Linked DNA regions of Homo sapiens: all the other regions are linked to region 3. Evidence: promoter capture Hi-C in human tissues and cell types (Jung and others, 2019). All regions are on one chromosome and are shown on one strand. The core of a region is centred on a gene start or on the middle of the fragment in contact, and the rest is flanking DNA. Distances in the headings are between cores, read along the strand shown.

What was found. Contacts are between HindIII fragments. The study calls those that stand out against the background at their distance.
Region 1: a fragment that was not itself captured here is called in contact with the fragment with the promoter of ETV1 in region 3 in 2 of the 25 tissues and cell types used here (H1 embryonic stem cells and lymphoblastoid cells).
Region 2: a contact is called between a fragment that was not itself captured here and the fragment with the promoter of ETV1 in region 3, in 1 of the 25 tissues and cell types used here (hippocampus).
Region 4: a contact is called between a fragment that was not itself captured here and the fragment with the promoter of ETV1 in region 3, in 2 of the 25 tissues and cell types used here (dorsolateral prefrontal cortex and hippocampus).
Region 5: a contact is called between a fragment that was not itself captured here and the fragment with the promoter of ETV1 in region 3, in 1 of the 25 tissues and cell types used here (mesenchymal stem cells).

The regions. Positions count from the first base shown.
Region 1 is chr7:14,301,100-14,303,799 of GRCh38, reverse strand. The region is part of intron 23 of DGKB (diacylglycerol kinase beta); the gene reads left to right. Among named protein-coding and RNA genes, the nearest start is that of ETV1, 310 kb to the right of the region's middle. The HindIII fragment of the contact is 4,003 bases long and covers 1-2,700 here.
Region 2 is chr7:14,340,074-14,342,773 of GRCh38, reverse strand. The region is part of intron 22 of DGKB (diacylglycerol kinase beta); the gene reads left to right. Among named protein-coding and RNA genes, the nearest start is that of ETV1, 350 kb to the right of the region's middle. RefSeq lists an enhancer at 1,659-2,700. The HindIII fragment of the contact is 4,367 bases long and covers 1-2,700 here.
Region 3 is chr7:13,988,412-13,991,111 of GRCh38, reverse strand. It overlaps ETV1 (ETS variant transcription factor 1), which reads left to right and starts at 1,446. Exons shown (of 14, transcript NM_004956.5): 1 at 1,446-1,549; 2 at 1,648-1,844; 3 at 1,973-2,104. The coding sequence starts at 2,060. The HindIII fragment of the contact is 5,948 bases long and covers 1-2,700 here.
Region 4 is chr7:14,273,434-14,276,133 of GRCh38, reverse strand. The region is part of intron 23 of DGKB (diacylglycerol kinase beta); the gene reads left to right. Among named protein-coding and RNA genes, the nearest start is that of ETV1, 290 kb to the right of the region's middle. The HindIII fragment of the contact is 7,161 bases long and covers 1-2,700 here.
Region 5 is chr7:14,319,064-14,321,763 of GRCh38, reverse strand. The region is part of intron 23 of DGKB (diacylglycerol kinase beta); the gene reads left to right. Among named protein-coding and RNA genes, the nearest start is that of ETV1, 330 kb to the right of the region's middle. The HindIII fragment of the contact is 3,875 bases long and covers 1-2,700 here.

The sequences.
Region 1 (2,700 bases), core at 106-2,605, 310 kb before region 3:
GCTCCTGGGCCACATCACTGTTCACAACTAAAGAGATGACTAAGTGTTTACTTGGAGTGAATGTTGCAGCACAGGTGGCAGGGACCTTTGGAATTTCTATCCCTGTTCTGGCTGATTTACTTTGATGCCTGTAAGGTGATAGAGAGTACTGCCATGATTCATTAGATGCATTTGAACTTCAAAGAAAGCACAGTGCAACTAGATCAAGACTAGGTTTGGTCTGAGCAAAGAAACACCAAAGAGTAAAGAAAAAAATTAAATGGGAAAATAAATTAGTATTCAGATAATAAATATGGCAGGTAAGTTATTTAATTTTAATGAAATGGAAAGAGATACAGTATCAAAAGGACCAATAATAACAAAAACATAGTTTATTAATTTAAGGCTAAATATTGATTTTTTACTCTGGAAAGGTGAATATGGCTTTAGGTGAAACATTCTTTCTTAAAAACTAACTACGGCGGGAAATACAGTCATACACATCCAAGTAAAGTTTCTAAAATGGCATATGTAATTCCTCAAGTAAAAATGAAACGCAATAACTTTAGCATTACAAATAACTTGTATCATTACGAAAACTTTGTCATTACCACCTGAACTAAAACATTTACTTTCCTTTGTGTATAATGTCCCTGAAAGAAATACTTCACTTAGGTGTTGCCATAAAAAGACGTCATTTTGAAAACTGGCACTGGACACATATGAAAATTTGTCTAAGATAATTCTACATATCTGGGCTAAATAAATATTTGTTTTGCTTAGCAGCATAGCTAGGATAACCAAATTATATGATGAGATCCTAAGCTTCTCCTACCACCCATGGTATAATAGACTAATTTTTAGGAATTGCACAAAGTCTTTTCTCAAAATAATTTTCGTTGGCCTATGATTCATTTAGTGCTGAGAATAAAAACCAAAAGTATACCTCCCATCATAGATCTTACATTACAGCAAATATTTTACCTTGGATAAAAGATATATTAATTACAAATCAAATGTCATCATCTGCTTTCCAATATGAAGGAAATAAACAAGGCGATATGGAGCATTTGTTGGGTTTTCAGTTGTCAATTTAGAATGACTGGTCAAGAAATACGTCTCTAAGAAGGCTACAATTAATAGGGGGCTGAAGGATTGGGAAACAATTATGGATCAAGTCAATAAAAGTGTATTGCAGGAAGAGAAGAAAGTTCAAGTCCAAAGACTAAAATGGGCAAGATTTTTGTCCTTTTGAACAAGAGCAAGGAATTCCATGTACCTAGAGTAAAACGAGCAATGGGGCCGGGGGCAGGCTGTTTCCAGATGAGAACAGGGAGGTAGACAATCACAGGTAACTGGAATATTTTCAATACAGAGTAATATGATCTAACTTACAATTTAACATTCTTAGTATAAATACAGCACACAGGTACACAAATTTCAAAATAAAATATACACTTGCTGATTTATCACAAAGTGATCATATGTGTACACATCACTCCAAAATAGAGGAAGATTGGCAGTAACACAGAAGATTTTCTTATGTTCTCTCTCCTCTGTACACCAGAGGAACCATTATCTTGCCTTTTATTATAAATACTTTCTTGATTTTTCATATGACCTTAACACCTAAGAATACATTCCTAAACATTATATATTGTGTGTTGAAATAAATAAAATAACTTAGTATCTATTCTTTTGTGTCTAGGTACATTTATTCCATGCTATGTTTGTGGAATTTGCTTTTTGTTGGCTTTGGCTTTGGTTTGTTCATCGTCCTTGCTCTGTAGGATTACAGAGATGGAGAGAATCAAAGCAAAGCTGTGGTCCTTGTGAGAGTGCCTGATTCTGATTTTCTTTTATTGCTAAAGCACTGCCATTTGGGGTCCCAACCCAAGACCAGGGACATTTGCCAAGCCCCATACTTTGGTAGACCCTGGACTCAGTCCCATGAGTCTGACAAAAGCACTGTACACTTGATCAACCAACCCTCCTGAAATGAGTGAAAACCCATAAGGCAAGAGTAGCCCACCTCTCCAGATCTCCATCTTTAGCCAGATGGTAACACCATTTTTTTACTCTCTTATTAGTCTTCTAAGCCTTCAAATGTGTGTGTATGTGTGTGTGTGTACACACCTATTCATGTATATATACACAAAGATGCATCTGGAGATGTATATGTATACAGCAGCACAAGTTGTCCACATTGGTAGGATTGGCCCAAATTACCAAGTTCTTATTACAATAAGTAACATTCCCTAATCTATCTTTTTAAAAGATTACTGACTGCTCTTATGAGGATTAATTTAAACAGTAAGATTTGAAGATGGAATGCAAATTAGATCAGTATTGCTGTTGTCTCTGCAGTACATGAAGATGTCTTGACTGGGTATGGTATTTGTGAAAATAGAATGGTTTTTCTTCTAAGTAGAAATCTCATGACTTGCCAATTGTTAGGGTGTGTAGGATATAGAAAATAGAAAAGATAGAGACACCAATGCCCAAGAAAAGTTGCACTGTGGATCAACTATTCTATCCCACTGTTACTATGTAGCCTAGTCAAATGAGATTTTCTTCTTTGGTGTTATTGTTTAACATTTTAATTTAAAAATATATCCCAAGATTTTAGGCTTTGGAAATATATTTATAAGATGATGCATGTTTTAAAACCCATAAAATATCAAAGACTGCAAACAGATAAACTTCAGAAAAAGTGTAATC
Region 2 (2,700 bases), core at 51-2,550, 350 kb before region 3:
TTTACCTATTATTAACTGTCTCACAGGTGATGCTAAACAATGCACATATATTATTTGATTTAGTCTTTATCAAAACCTTATGATACTGTTATATCTCCATTGCAGAGATAAACATTTTCTTCAGTAATTTAAGAGAAATAAGAATTATGTTGCTGCCACAATGTTTAAATCTAATGAGCAAATTGATTGAAAAATATATGTATTTACACATACATGTAAAGATTTAATGATACACGAAGTAGAATTTTTTAAAGATATTCATTTATCTTCTAACTTTATTACAAAAGATAAAAATAAATTCTTTAAAATTACAAGAAAATATTTTAAAACCAATGTTTATATTAAAGTATTTGGAGGGGTGAAATGTGTGCCTAAGAAACTCAGGTCAGCATTTGGAATTGAAGATACAGAGTTCATGAATGTTCAGTTTGCTCAGAGTACCAGGCAAAGTTAATGAGAGAATAAGAAAGCCTATTCTATAGATATTTCAGTCTTTTGGTTGACAGGGATACTGGGAAAGATGGTAAATTTTAAAGCCAAGAATTTCCATCCCAAAGTACTGATTTATTGTAATGATTAAATACCCCTAGAAACCTAAATGATCTCAAGAATTAATGAATGGCATGACTAGCATCAAAAACACAAAATAAATTAGCAGGATTCAAAAGACAATATTCTTATTGCTCAGTAACCTGGAAAACAGAGTTCTTAGAGGCAATAGCCAGAGTTCCCAAGCATAGTCTCTGCCCCATGTGTCCTAATACTGAAATTACCTATAAAGTAATGTTTTACGTTTCATTGAGTAAAAATAGAAATAATTCTTATCTGATATAGACATAGAATCAGACCTACTATGGAAAAAAATTACAGTTTATCATTAATTGTATCTCATCACATTTACCATCCACACTTAGAGCTCTCCAAAGTTCTTCACATGTTTTGAATAGTCCTATCAACTGACATGTTAAGTGGATCTGAAACACTAAAGTCACATATAAAGCTTGTTTTTAACACCTCTGTACGGTGTGACCCAGGACTCATTTATTTATGAAGGTTAAAACACATTGGCAGAAAAATTGAAACCGTCTTCTTTTCTTTTAATTATATTTGTCTCTGGAATAAGATCCTCTATTTTAAAACTGAAAAGAGCAGACAATGGCATCACAGCCTTGCACTCTATAAATAGCTCCCATAGTACTATATGTTAACGACCTTTTTTCTACCTAATAAAAATATTCAGGATTTATTGACTAACTGAGGCTGTTAGCTTTTAAGCTTTTATATTCTTTTCCTCTGTAGCTACCTTTTTAAAAGTCATAAATCTCAAAGGGAATGAAAATATTATCTGACACAGTACTATAACTTGTTTATATTTCATAGCCTTCACCTCAGCTTTTACTTTCATGCACTCAACTGGTGTGCTACAATTACTGGTCTCCATCAGAACCAGCACTGAAATTTTCCAGACTAATGAACATAACGTTAAAGCAAACAGAGGAAGGTAGCCTAGGGTCAAGAACAAGTGGAAACAAATCATTAATAAATAGCAATTTATTTAAGTACATTGTCCTGCTCTCAAAGGAACATCAATGTTCTTCATCAGTCCTTGTTCTTTGCGACTGTTTGAGAATTTTTTTTCACTTCTCAGAGAGCTACTTACTCTGTTTCCCTAAAACTACACATGACAAAACTCTGAAGAGTGAAAACATGAATAATAGCATACACTCATGTTTTTCAATTGTCACATGTAACTCAGCTGGTTCAATTCTTTTTTTTAAAAAAAAAAGAAGCCTCTTTGCAACATGCTCTCCTTTTCTGCAGATGAACAAAGGAATCCTCCTTCACTAATTCTGAAAGTAACTTGTCACAGTGGGGTTCTAAGGCCTAGTCAAATAATTGTCTTAGTGTACTACCTGCTGTGTTCAATATTGAGTGAAAATGGAAGCCAGGCCCTGACTCCAGCTTATTTCATGATTCTTCTGTTATTTAAATGATTTTAGTCAGTTTGGGGGAAGCCAGACCTTTATAAATTAACAGCAGGGAAATACCAAAGGTGTCAGATTGCATATTTATCATCTTTTTCGTGTAATACTTAAATATGTATTAAGAAGTGACTGACATAAATTAGGCAGATTTCAGAAGCCACAGGCCGTGGCTTGTAGAGGACCCCCTTCTGCTTGACATTTCATCCTTGTCAAAGATCAAATTATTTTAATTTAGGCTGCAAATTATAAGGAATGAAGACTTCTTTGTGGGAATTCCCTGTGGTAATCTGACTTTTGTTGTTACTGCTGCTTGTCAGTGTGCAAAAGATATAATATGCATGCAAATAAGGTTAAAAAATATGTACTATCTAATTATCCAGCCAGTACATTCCACTTGAAGACAGTGGGAGGCCTGACACACAGTATGTGTTTGATTCATTGAGGCCTGCAGGGTATTTACACAAGATTACTTTTAATTATGAAATTAATATCTGTTTATCTAGAATATATAGCGGTAAGTGAGTATACACATGACCAGAATTCTTTAGTAAAAAGAAATCATCTTAATTTAGTACCAGAAAAGGAGGAAAAAAGCACTGCTTTCTGGAAAAAAAAAAAAAAAAAAAAAAGCATCATCCAGATCTTGGTTTCGCCCTCATTGAAACAAATTAAATGAAAACTTGGCACTTTCTCTAGAATTTGTTTCTACCCCTGC
Region 3 (2,700 bases), core at 197-2,696:
TGTGAACTCCGATTTAGTAGTTTCCGGGAATGCGCGGGGTCTGTCTTTGCTGTCCATAGTTATTGGTTGTTTTCCCAGTAATAAGTGTTGATTGTTTGTTTGTTTGCTTCTTTTTTAAGTAGATCTTTCTCCTGCCCAGGTCCGGGGTTGAGTGCTGTGCGCTCTTACACTCCATTTTAATGTGTCTCCATAACGTTCTATTTAAGGAAGGAAACTTTCAAATAGAAATTGAGAACTGCAGCACGTTTCCTAACGGGCGGAACAGCTGCCGGAAACGTCTTTTGGTCACTAGTTCTGGTCACAAATGAATTTCAACAGCATTGAGTCCCTGGTCCTATCCCCGCGGCCTCCCGTCCGCTGTTGGACACTGGCTCCTTAAAGTGACGCTTTACTGTTCTGAGTCCCATAGGAGGATCAGGGCAAGTGGCTTCAGAGATGCAGCCCTCACTGCTTAACGTCCTAGTTATTGTCCTTGAAACCCGAGCCATCTCACCGCTCGCCCCCAACCCTGGGCTCTGGCTGTTTAAAAGCTGGAGAGGAAGTGAAAGCGTCAAGTACAGTAAGTGACACCCTCCGCCTCCGTGTATACATAACAAAAGCTCAGGAAACGTGCGGGTTCTAGGATATACGAGCAACCCCAAGCACTCCCTCCTCCTCCCCACAGCCACAGTGGACTGGAAGTACCTTTTCCCAGTGCACACGTAGGGACCATTTTGACTTATACTTTTTCACCTAGCTTGCTCTGTTGTCCTCCCATCACAACCTCTGCTAATCAGCAATTCTGCATCTCCTAGGTGCCTTCCTTATAGATTCTTTATGTTTCTGTCCCACGAACGATAGGATCTAATTTTAGTTGAGGATGACTGTTTAAAAAATGTTTCGATAAACCATAATGGTGATGGTGGGTTTTGAAAAACGGGAAAATAAATTGGGCCAAAAGCTGAGTGGGAATGAGGATAGAGAGCGAGGTGAGCTCCTAGTCAGGGCAAGAGTAGAGAGGTTGGAGATCCTGAGGGGAGGGCAGCTGAATAAGGCGGTACGGGCTTTGTGGATCGCGGCTCTAAGGGTATACCAGAACCGCACAACAGTACTTTAAGGAAACCAGCCCAATAGTGGACCTAACACCCCAATAATGGGAACTGGCGACTCGAAACACACGGTTTCAGTATCCCCAGGCGCCTTAACAATAAGCAGCGGGTTACAGAGGAAATCGAGTCTCTCCGTGGCGCTTCCAGGCTGAGGACCCAGCGCCTACCGGCCGAGCACCCCCTAGGGCAGAGGGGCGAGGGAGACCCGCGGGAAGGGGCAGCAAGCCGCCTGATTGACAGCCCGAAATCTGATCTTGTGAAAGAGACGCGGAGCCAATGGGAGGCAGCGATCCATCAGTTTGGATTGGAGGCCCCTGGAGGAGAAGTAGAGGAAAAACCACCGAATTGAGCTCTGTCAGAGGCGCTTTCGGCTTCCAAGGGGGAAGTGCTGGGCTATAATTAATGTTTTTATTAAATTTGGAGGGAAGTTTTTGCAGCCTTTCGCCTAGCGTGGCCTTCAGGTGGGTCTTTCCAACAACTTTTTATGTCTCTCCAGATAATTGCATGGTTGTGGGTCGCAAAAACTATCCTGATGAAAGAGGTGTCTCCGTCTCTTTAGTCCCGTTAGGTGCAAAGCAAGTCTCGTTGATCGCCATTGCTAGTTTTGCACACGTTTGCGAATCAGAGCTGCCCGGGGTACACCGACCGCGCAGGGAAACATCGAGAGTGTAAATAAATACATCGCCTCTTGTTCGGATTTTTGCTACTACCGAAAATATGTAAATTGTGAACTCTGTTGGCTCTCTTTGGATCCAGGTGAAGGAGGCGGTGTAGGGAGGGTTATTTTTGTGAATGGGACTGTCGGAGGGTAATTAGCTATGCAAATTCAAGAGCTTCATTCATGATTTTTTTTTAAGCCTAAAAGCCATCTTGTTCCCCTCTAGGTTGATAGAAGTCCAGATCCTGAGGAAATCTCCAGCTAAATGCTCAAAATATAAAATACTGAGCTGAGATTTGCGAAGAGCAGCAGCATGGATGGATTTTATGACCAGCAAGTGCCTTACATGGTCACCAATGTGAGTGATCAGTTTGAAAGTTGCTGTTTATAAACTTGACTCCGTCGGGGGTGGGGAGAGGGAGAAAATGAGAAGGGAGGGGGCACGGGGGTTGGGATTGCAGATACTTATCTGCTTTGTTGCCACTGTAGGGCGACTCTGCTTCTAGAAGCCCAGTCTTCAAAATGAGCTTACCTTTCAGTGATTTGGATAAGGCATAGTTTTGTTTTTAAGACCCCTTTTTCTGATTAAAGTGCCCAACATGAGTGGAAGAGGAGATGGAGGGCAGCAGCAGCTGCTGCACTCAAAGTTTTTGGCTGGGTTTGTCTGCCACATTGAAAAGAATGAAGTTGAGACAAATGCTGACACTTTTTGTTTATATGGGGTGTTTTTGTTTCTTTTTTTTTTCTCATTTTCTCTTTTTTTTTTTTTTCATTTCTCTACTCTTTTTGCTTTTTTTTTTTGTGGGGGTGGGGTGGGGAGGAGGGGCTGTCCAAGAGAGAATAAAACCCACTGTTTTAATCTAGCATTGAACCAGCCTAAAAACAACTTTAAGTGTAAATGCTTCAGGTTGTTTTGATGCTGAGATACCATGAATATATGATTGATAAATAGTA
Region 4 (2,700 bases), core at 27-2,526, 290 kb before region 3:
GCTAAGTTGAGAATAAAGCTTCAGTGATTTGCCTCATAGTGATATGAACTTTGTACCATCTAATTTTTGAATATTAAAAGCCCCCAAATATTCCCTGTATACGAATAGGTCTATCACTATAGTATGTGAGGCTAGCAACTAAAAGCAAGAAGAGGATTTCAGAAATCTGTCTTTATGTTAGTAAAGAGTAATTTCTTTACTCTATGAATTAGATAAGAATTAATTAAACGCTCACCTACTGTACAAAGTCAGGACTAAATGACAGCTTATTCTGTTATTTAAAATTTGCATTGTGCCAAAATTTGGCCTCATCATCATATCATGGCAATTATGAATTAGTTTTAGAGATGTTTCCAAACTTGGAATTCTTCTAATCTGTTACTGGTGGGACATCACTGACATTATGTAATTGTTAAACCTACCACTATTAAGAATTGCTAGTTGATTTGTTTAAAGACAGTATTTGTTTCAGCTGTTGCTTGTCTTCTGTCAAATATCTGAGGCAGAGGAAGCATGGCCTTTCTAGCGAGCAGAGACCCTATGTGAATTGGCGCTATTAAAAGTTCCACACATGACCACTATTTGACTCATTCCCACATGTTGCAATTAAGTGCTTGTTAAATGTTGCTTTCCTCTGTCTGCATGAAAAGCTATTAGAAGGAAAAAAAATGTGGAAAGATTTAAATGTAAGCCTGGATTAGTTGAAGAAGTAGGCTCATGTCAAATTGTGACCAAGGACTTTGTGTTTCATTCTTGGTGAAAAGAATGCTCATAATCCAATATTATTTCAAGAAATATTCATACAAAAACTTTTTATTGTGTGTCAACCCTATACCAGGGCCTGTATTAGGAGTTGGGACTATAAAGATGTATGAAATATGGTAACTGCCTTAAGATGAGAAGATATGCACATTTAAAAACAAAACAATACAAAGCAAAACAAATCTATAATGTCATGAGAATAAACATAGAACTTAAGTATATTCAAGGCAATGGTAACATAAAAACTGTGAATTATTTCTGCCCAGAGGTGACAGAGAGATGCTTCAGAGAAAGTGATGTTTAATCTGTATTTTAAAGAAGGAAAATACTTTCATCTAGGACAACAGAGAAGGCCATTTCAAACAGAAGAAATCACATTTATAACACGCACACACAAACACACACACACACACACACACACACACACACTGCTATGGACTGAAGTGCACCCCCCAAAAAATGCATATTTGACCTTCTAATCCTCAATGTGATAGGATTTAGAGGTGAGGCCTTTTAGAGGTAATGAAGTGTAGATGAGGTAATGAAGGTGGAGCCTCTATGACGGGATTAGTGCCTTTATAAGAAAAAAAAAGCAGACCAGAGCCCTCTCCCTCTTTCTGCCATTTGAGAACACAACAAGAAGAAAGTGTACGCAAACCAACAAGAGAGCCCTCACCAGATACCAAATACCAGATACCAAATTCACTGTCACCTTGATCTTGGACTTCCCAGCCTTCTAAACTGTAAGAGATGAATATTTTATTGTTATGTCATTCAGTCTATGACATTTTTTAATAGCAGCACAAACTAAGACACACATAAAGTTAGAAACAATACAGAGTGAGAAACTATAAGTCTGATGTTAATGCGGAAAGGTATCAAGTGATAAAGATAATATAAAAGCAAGCAGGGAGGGCCTTTTATGCCATGCCAACAATTTTGAGTTTGGGGTAACTAGGATTCATTGAAGAGTTTAGTAGAAAGTGACTTGAGGAGGTCTGCATTTTAGTAAGAAAACTCCAGCCAGGTGGATTAAGGTAGGATTAGTCGTTGCCGAGAGAAAAAATAAAATAAAATTTGGAGGCTGTTTCCAAACACTGAAACTATCACTGCGTATCACCTTCAAGGAATCTCCTGAGTACAGTGCCAAGAGCAGAGGAACATGTGGATCATGGGGCTGTCACATTCTTTTGAGGAGCTATTCAGGAGCTAACAGCCATTCATTGACCAAACTGGCAATCACCTGCTACTGTAAATCCTGGAACCGTCTTGCAGTTGAGCAAAGCAACTTATGAACTCCTATTAGCCAAAGCCCCTCAAGTGTATCAAAAAGGGACATTTGTCATGAGGTCTAGAATAATCTCCCACAAAACAATGAAATACAAATATGTTTCTAATAATTTAAAATCCTCAAAAGAGTAATTCCTGAAGTAAAGTTTGTAAATAAACTTAGGTATTGTCATCTTGATTATCTGTTAGTACAATGAGAAATTACTGATATTCAGACATCTTTTTTGCACACATATATACATACTCACCTCAATATGAACTAAATTTTAAAAAAGTAAATTACACAAAGAATGAACTTAAAGCTACTTACTAGTAACAACTGAGTGGTATCATGTCTGTATAGTTTTAGAAGACACCTTTTCAAAAGAAAAATGAGCTTAGCCAGTGGAGATACAGCCAGTATTTGTATGTAGAGTTGTCATTCAGTTAAAATCTATTTTCTGAACCTTATCACGTGAAAATTTACCATTCAACTAATATCCCAAATTATTCTCAAAACTAGCACTTCTGCCTTGTGTCAATACAACAATGTAATAAATCAGAAAGCCCACAGTACTTGATATAAATATCTTGGCTCTGACTATAGAACAATGACCCTGAATCCATAAACTACATATGTACATCATTTCATATCTTTACTGTTACATC
Region 5 (2,700 bases), core at 62-2,561, 330 kb before region 3:
TTTGTTGTACCAAAATACACAGCTTTCTAAAATCACTTATCAATTCTAATACTGTATCTATAGACTGTTGGACTTTAAATAAATATCATGCCATCAATAAATGATGATGGTTCATTCCTTCTTTTTTTACCCTTAATCCTTTTCTTTTTTTTTTTTTTTTCTTATTTCTCTGTTTAAAGTCTCCAGTGCAAGGCTGAATACATGGGGTGAAAATGGACGTTGGTGTCTTGTTCTTGATATTGGAGGCTGTGGGGGAGATTTCAATAGTTCACCATTTCTCTAATGTTCCTTGTATACTTTTATGGATACACCTTTTCAGGTTAAAGATTTCTTCTTTATTTCAAATTTACTATGTTTTGTTATAAATACATGTTGATTTTTATAAAATTATTGTTTTTCATCTATTGAGAGAATCATACTTTTTATTCTTTATCCTGTGAATGTGGAGAATTACATTGCTTAATTTTTTTTCTGAGACAGGGTATCACTCTGTTGCCCAGGCTGAAGTGCAGTGATGTGATACTGGCTTACTGCAGCCTCTGCCTCCTGGGCTCAAGAGATTCTCCCACCTCAGCTTCCCAAGCGGCTGGGACCACTGGCATGTGCCATCATGTCTGGCTAAGTTTTGTATTTTTTGTAGGGACAGGGATTTGCCATGTTTTCCAGAATGGTCTCAAACTCCTGGGCTCAAGTCATCCGCCCGCCTCATCCTCCCAAAGTGCTGTGATTACTGGCATGAGCCACCTTTCCTGGCTGCTGAATTTTTAAATTTTAAAGCAACCGTGTATTCCTTAAATAAATCTAACTTGGAATGTTGTATTATCTTGTTATACAACACTGGATTTTATTTATTAATATTACATTTAAAATTTTGCATCTATGTTCATGAGAATGGTCATGAATTATTTTTCCTATCATGTCATCATTAGGTTTATTTAATAAGGTTATGCAAACAGAAAGGGCAAAGTTGGTAGGCAGTATGACCTGCACTTGTGAGTATGGCTCTAACTACTTTATCTAATAACAGAGGCTTATAGCTTTGTGTCAGATGCAGACCATAAAATGATTCTATTATAGGTCAATCTGAAATGCAAGCAGCCCTGTAACTTAAGTTATAGGACAGACCCTACAGGACTATATATATATATGTACCACATATATGTACTATATATATGTACTATATATGTACACATATATATATGTACTATATAGTACATATATGTACCGCATATGCGGTACATATATATATGTGGAAAAGATGCTTTGTGGAGTTGATGACACACTTCAATAAGAGAATCACAATGTAGTCTAAGGCTGTGGAGCAAGGCTATGGCATTGGCAGCAGAAAACTATATGTCAACTGAGAACAAGCTCTGGACGTGCTACTTGGACTCTATAAATATGGATCATCTGACCATAGCAAGTGACCATAATGAAATCACAGGGCCCACCATATGCTGAGTTTTGTTAGACCAACCAAGTCATAAGCTCAGAATTCATTGTAAGATAGAAGTAGATAGAACACCTGGATCAGACATGTAGGGCCAGAGAGCGAGGAAAGCTGCATGAGTGTCTGTTGTTCCCACCACTGCTGGACCCCCGCCTCCCCCTCAGCTCCCACCTATGACTCTTAGGACCAAATGTCAGAGAAGGAAAAGCTTTAATGAGAGTTCTTGAATAGTTTATCTTGCTTTGTTAGTGTGCTTCTAAAAAAGGGCTGCTATTCCAGCAGTGCTGCTTTTGGGGTAGTGGAAAGGAGAAATTCCCAATGAGCAGAGCTCTGGGAGCCTGCCCAGTTATCCTTTGTATAGAGAGTAGCCCAAGGTGAGAATACAAATGGACCTGTAGATCTTAACAAAGTGTTCCAAAGAAGATGCTTGTGGATGAACTTATAGGAATGGGGACAAGGTACCAACATTGCACTTTTTCTTAGTGCTGTAAGTATAAAATACAATACTTTATCTTTTATTTTGGAGAACATGTCCTGACATACTATAGACCACTGGATGCATAATACAAAGATGAATTGACTCTTTAGAGGATTTATCTTTCACACCCTGGCAAGTCATTATCTTATAAGATCTACAGCCTACATATCATTTATTGCTCATCTAGCCCAATTAGCCAAAGAGTACACTGGTTCTCAAACTTTTAGTCTCAGGATCCCTTCATACTCTTAAAAATTATTGAAAATCCTAAAGAACTTTTGCTTATGTGAGGTACATCTATTGTTACCATATAAAACATTAAGGCTGAGAAATTATTAAAATATGTATTCATTTAAAAGTCTTAATAAACCTATTACATGTTACTATAAATATATTTTTAAATAACTATATTTAAAAAACAAAAATTTAGTAAGAAGAGTGGCACTGTATTGCTTTTTATAAATCTCTGTAATGTCTGGTCTAATAGAAGACAGCTGGATTCTCATATCTGCTTCTACATTCCATTTATTGCAATATTTTTTTTTATTATTATACTTTAAGTTTTAGGGTACATGTGCACATTGTGCAGGTTAGTTACATACGTATACATGTGCCACGCTGGTGTGCTGCACCCACTAACTCGTCATCTAGCATTAGGTATATCTCCTAATGCTATCCCTCCCCCCTCCCCTCACCCCACAACAGTCCCCAGAGTGTGATGTTCCCCTTCCTGTGTCCATGTGATCTCATTGTTCAATTCCCACCTATGAGT